Regions from separate parts of the Homo sapiens genome. Here region 1 is linked to region 2. The links are contacts of gene promoters, found by promoter capture Hi-C in human tissues and cell types (Jung and others, 2019). All regions are on one chromosome and are shown on one strand. The core of a region is centred on a gene start or on the middle of the fragment in contact, and the rest is flanking DNA. Distances in the headings are between cores, read along the strand shown. Region 1 overlaps KIF24 (kinesin family member 24). Region 2 holds the start of ENHO (energy homeostasis associated).

Region 1 (2,717 bases), core at 48-2,547, 260 kb before region 2:
CCTGTAGTCCCAGCTACCTGGGAGGCTGAGGTGGGAGGATTGCTTGAGCCTGGGAGGCAGAGGCCACAGTAAGCCAAGATCACACCACTGCACTCTAGCCTGGGTGACAGAGTAAGACCCTGTCTCAAAAACAACAACAAAAAGTTTTGATTTTTGAAGCATTTCAGATTTCAGATTTTTAGATTAATGATACTCAACTTGTAGACAGAGTTCCTGGATGGAATTTCACTCCTCTCCTTCTCTTTTCCCCACTGTGCCCAGCATCATGTCTTACTGACAGTGGATGCTCGACTGAATGAACAAATACATGAAATAAGGAAGAAAGGAATGAATCAGAACAAACTCAAGGCTCACATTTAACTTTACCTGAGTTAGTTTGCTTTGCCTGAAGGGAGTATGGGTGTGTTCCTGATCCAGTGCTCGGATACATTCCTTCAGCTGCAAAGTGGGAGAACAAGCACATCAAGTATCAAGTGCAAAGGGAGAGTAACAGACCTGATGCCGCCTCCACAGGAAGCTTGTTTTTCTTCAATAAACCACACTCAGACAATCCTCCAAAAGGAAGTCAAAATGGCCTGTAGTTTCCATTCAACAAGAGAAACCAAGCTAGATTGGGAAACACCATCCTGTGCTGCCTAGCTGAAGGCCTCCCAGCTTAGAGGCTGGGATCCTAGGACTGCCCCTGAGTTGACGGCGGGGAACAGACAGACGCTGGGACCTACCCTCAAGTCCCAGAGTTCAAGCTCATGTGGTGGTAGTTCTGGCTTGCTGGCTCCCTTTCTCTCCTCACATTCTTCCCAACTGTTGATGCACTTAAACAGACAAAATATCTATATCCACTTCCCCACTCCCTGCTCACACATGCACACCCGTTGGCGTAGAGTCAAGCATAGATTCAGATATAAACTATCTGAATGGGGTAGGAGAAATTCTAGAGCCAGAGCTAGAAGGAAACTGAGAAATCACCTAGGCCTACCCCCTCGTTTTATTTATTTTTTTCTTAATTTTTTTTTTTTTTTGTAGAGATGGGGGTCTCTGTATATTGTTGCCCAGGCTGGTCTCAAACTCCTGGCCTCAAATGATCCTCCTGCCTCAGCCTCCTGGAGTGCTGGGATTACAGCCAGCACTTTGACCACACACAATTAAAAACGACCCTTCATTTAAAAACAGCAGGGTCTGTGGCCCAAAGGCAAAGGAATGTTCCTTGCTCATGGCTGTACTCCCTCAGTGAGAAGCGCTCATTGGACATGATAAGGACAGCAGAGATCTGGATATGTGGACCTCCAGGGGAAACACTCCCATCAGAAACAGTGGTGGGGGTCGTGGGGGGCAAGATGAGGGAGGAGAGACCTTCTATTTCTGAGTGATGCATCTAGGCTAAAAGATAGTAAAAGAAAAGAAAAGGAGCTGGGTGCAGTGGCTCATGCCTGTAATCCCAGCACTTTGGGAGGCTGAGGCGGGCAGATTATTTGAGCTCAGGAGATCGAGACCAGCTTGGCCAACATGGTGAAACCCTGTCTCTACTAAAAATACAAAAAAAAAAAAATTAGCCGGGCATGGTGGCACATGCCTGTAATCCCAGTTACTCAGGAGGCTGAGAAAGGAGAAAAGCTTGAACCTGGGAAGTAGAGGTTGCAGTGAGCTGAGATCATGCCACTGTACTCCAGCCTGGGTGACAGAGCGAGACTCCGTCTCAAGAGAAAAAAAAAAAAAAGAGGGAAGAAGGTGGAAGCAATCCCTTGGAATTGCCACCAAGAATAGGTAGTTTGCCTCCAGAGTGTGCTATGGCTGTTCTTAGCAGCAGCCACAGATGCCCGCAACTGCCCTACCTCTATCCAAGAAGCTGCAGGGTATAAACAGGTGTGAGGAAATTTCCTCTTTTATTAAAAATCTATCCAGTATTCCCCAACTTTAGCACTGAGAAGATTCTCCACTGAGAACGAACAAGTAATCAAACCCTGTTCCTCACAGACTCAAATTCAAGCGTGGCCACCAATCCCTACAAGCTTTTTTTCTTTTTTTAAATAAAAAAAGTTTGGCTCCCTCTCTCACCCTCCCAACTTACCCCTCATGAAGTCTGGAAAGAATGTACCTACCTGGAGACTTCAGTTCTGATAAAAAATAAGTAAATAATGTGGAGCAGCACAAGGCAGCATATACAACTGGAAAAAGGAATGAGGAAGAGCTCTATGTACAGTCATGCAGTGATCTTGAGGATGCCGTTAAGTGACAAAAGCGAAGTGCAAAATAGTGTTGAGAGTATGTTAGCATTTTTTCTAAGAAAAGGGGTGAGTGCAAACATATATATAGACAGAAAAATGATTTTACAAGGGGAGGAAGGTAACAAGGTTGAGAGTACAGGGATGGAAACTATACTTCTTTGAATGTGGCTTATTTTACAATTTTTACTTTAAAACCACATAATTTTTTTTGCTTTTTGCTGTTTGTTTAAGAGATGGGGTCTCACTTTGTATCTCAGGCTGGAGTGCAGTAGCACAATCACAGCTCACTGCTGCCTTGAATACCTGGACTCAAGTGATCCTCTCACCTCAGCCTCCCAAGTAGCTTGGGTTACAGGTGCGCACCACCACACCCAGCTAATTTGTAAATGTTTTGTAAAGACAGGGGTCTCCCTGTGATGCCCAGGCTGGTCCTGAACTCCTGGGCTCAAGTGATCCTCCTTCCTTGGCCTCCCAAAATGCTGGGATTACAGGTGT
Region 2 (2,700 bases), core at 65-2,564:
TGGGAGATGGCTGCCCCCATGACAGGCAGCACCCTCAGACCAGCACAGACAGTGGAGCTGCCTCAATGGTGAGGCCCATGCCGAGGCAGGACTCTGGTATGGCCGGCCTTCAGAGGAGGCTGTGCTGTCTGCACGCTCAGTGATTCCTGGGCAGTGGAGATGTCTACCTGCAGTCCTGAGCCTGTTGGGGGTATACAGTAAAGGAGAGGGTGGTGAGGAGGAAGGGTGGGGTGAGGCCTAGGAGGAGAGAGGTAGGGAAGAGAGCCTCCCTCCCACATTTCTGGCCTCCCTGGTGAAAGACCTTGGGTCCCAACAGGCTCGAATACCCCACAGAGCCATCACCCCCATCCACAGGCTTGGTTCTGGCCACCTGAATGAGTGTGTAGCCACCGTGGGGAAGCTGCAGTAGGCAGCCGTCATCTCATTCTCCTTAGACCTGGTGGGCATGCCCTGGTCCTGCCCACCAAGCTTGCAGCCCTCAAAAGCCCTCTGTTGGTGGGTGGGATCCAGGAAGCCCCCAGCCCAAAAGGATGGGGGTTGTAAGCAGCTCTGGTGTGGCCTGGGCGCCTCCTCTCTCCCAGGACTCCAGCCAGCCCGACCAGGAGACCTCCAGAGGCGCCAGCTTGCACAGAGGGAACTTTGTGGAGGCCCTGGCAGGCATGTGCAGGCTCTGTGCGTCCAGGGCTGTGTGCCTCTATGTGGGGCTGCCTCTCTGGGTCAGGTGTGTGTGTGTGTCTGGTGTCTCACTGTCCCTCCGTTGGATGTGTGCCTGTGCCTCTGCACACCCACCTCTGTGTGTGTGGCTGCCTCTCCGTGTGTCCCCATCTCTGAGTATGTCTCCTCTATGTCTCATTTCTCTACCAGTGTGTCTCTGTGTATCTCTGCATCAGTCTCTGTGTCTCTCTCTCTCTTCCAGGCTGTATCCCCCTCTGTTCCCATGGACGTGTCCCTATCCCCTTCTCCGTGGGGTCTTTTCGGTGGTTCCTGTGTCTCTGTCTTTGTGTTCGTCTCTCTCCGCGGCAGTGTGTCTCTGTCTCTTTATCTCCATCTTCGGGTCGCGTGTTCTTGGCCCCCGTGCCCGTGGCGGGAGGCCCTTCTTACCTGAGTTGAGCCTGGTGCGCGCCCGCGGGAGGGTCCGGGGCAGCGGGATGCTCGGCGCCGACTAAGGCTTGGGAGCCTGCGGGCGGGGGGCGGCGGGAGGTGGGAGACCAGCAGAGGCGACGTCCGCTCCCCCGGCCCTCCCCCTCGGCCGCGCAGCCTCCACCGGCCGCTCCCGCCGCGGCGCGACCGGGGCGGCCTCTGCCGCGGGCGGTCTGCGGTGAGCGGGCACCTCCTCCCCTTGGGGCCGCACCTCCTCCGCGGCCGCGGCGCTCGCTCGCTCGGCAGCGCTCGGGCGGCGGCGGCGGGAGCTGCGCGGTGTTCGGCTGGGCTCGGCTGCGTTCGGTTGGGCTCGGCTGGGCTCGGCTACGTTCGGCTGGGCTCGGCCGGGCTCGGCGGCCAGCAAAAACAGCGAAGAGCCTCGCCTCCTGGGAGGCCGGCGGCCTGCGGCCCGGGGGCGGAGCCATCCCAGCGCCGCTGCCGCCACTCAATTGGCTGGCCGAACCCCGGTTCCCGCACCATTGGTGGTGCGCTGAGGTGGGGACCAGCCCGCCTCTCGTGCCGGCGCGGGGCGGGAGGAGGGCCGAAGGAGTAGCTGGCCCTGGATCCTTCCCGGGAGAGGGGATGGGGTGGGGGCAAGGCCTAACCTCTGGTAGGGATTTCTTGCACCTTCTACACCTGGAAGGGTTGTACACCCCACATCCGAGAAAGGCCAAGGCCTCTGCATTTCCACATGTGAGGAAACCACCCCTCTGTATCTGGGAGAGGTCTCTTAAGTAAGTCATCCGGAGGAAGGCCCCGCGTCCCCACACCTGGCAGGAGACTGAATCTCCTCACCTAGGGAACCGCCTATAGTGCAGTCCCGCACTTCCCTCTGCCACCTGGGTGTGGACTCTGCATTCCCACTTTAGAGGGCCCCAGGTTCCCTGGCCCTAAGAGGTGTGAAAATCTCTGGCAACACAGGTTCTTTGGACACATTTACTGAGTTCCTACCCAGTGTTGGTCGCAGGCTTGCTGCCAGGCTGTTGGGGAGTCTGGGACAGAAATGGAGTGTCCTGAGCGATGGTTCTGCCCTGGCTGGAATAGGTGCAGGCGTGGTGGAAATCCTGCCTTGCCATCCTAAAAGCTCCCCTAAGAAGAAGATAGCTTGGACAGGAGCAGTGAGGTAGACCTTGTCCTCCCCGACCTTCACAGGCCAGTGATTGTCACCTATTCTGATCCGGCCGTCTTCTCATCCCGCTCTACATGCTCTCCTTGGAGGATCACATCCCTGAAGCTATATCATGAAGACTCCCAGTGCTCCCAAGTCTAGCCTTAACTTCTCTCTGGAATCCTAGACTCATATAACTAAGTGCCTACTGTAATCGGGGCAGTATTGATTCCTGGTTCACTTACTAACTTTGTGATCTTGAGCAAGTTACTAAATCTCTCTTAGCCTCAGCTTCCTCATCTGTAAAATGGTTGTAATGCTACCTCTCAGGGTTGTTATTCACTAATTTATAGCAGATCGATCACATCTCAGCAAATGCCAGCTGACACAACCCCCAGGACCATGTGACTAAGAGGCCCCTTCCCCCAATCCAATGCCATGAAATTCACATA

Evidence for each region. Contacts are between HindIII fragments. The study calls those that stand out against the background at their distance.
Region 1: a fragment that was not itself captured here is called in contact with the fragment with the promoter of ENHO in region 2 in 4 of the 25 tissues and cell types used here (adrenal gland, dorsolateral prefrontal cortex, heart right ventricle and 1 more).

What each region holds. Positions count from the first base shown.
Region 1 is chr9:34,262,735-34,265,451 of GRCh38, forward strand. KIF24 (kinesin family member 24) reads right to left here. Exons shown (of 13, transcript NM_194313.4): 9 at 367-438. Among named protein-coding and RNA genes, the nearest start is that of KIF24, 65 kb to the right of the region's middle. The HindIII fragment of the contact is 4,375 bases long and covers 1-2,717 here.
Region 2 is chr9:34,521,676-34,524,375 of GRCh38, forward strand. ENHO (energy homeostasis associated) reads right to left here and starts at 1,315. Exons shown (of 2, transcript NM_198573.3): 1 at 1,102-1,315; 2 at 1-181. The coding sequence starts at 20. RefSeq lists an enhancer at 59-611 and silencers at 1,241-1,350, 1,371-1,740. The HindIII fragment of the contact is 6,325 bases long and covers 1-2,700 here.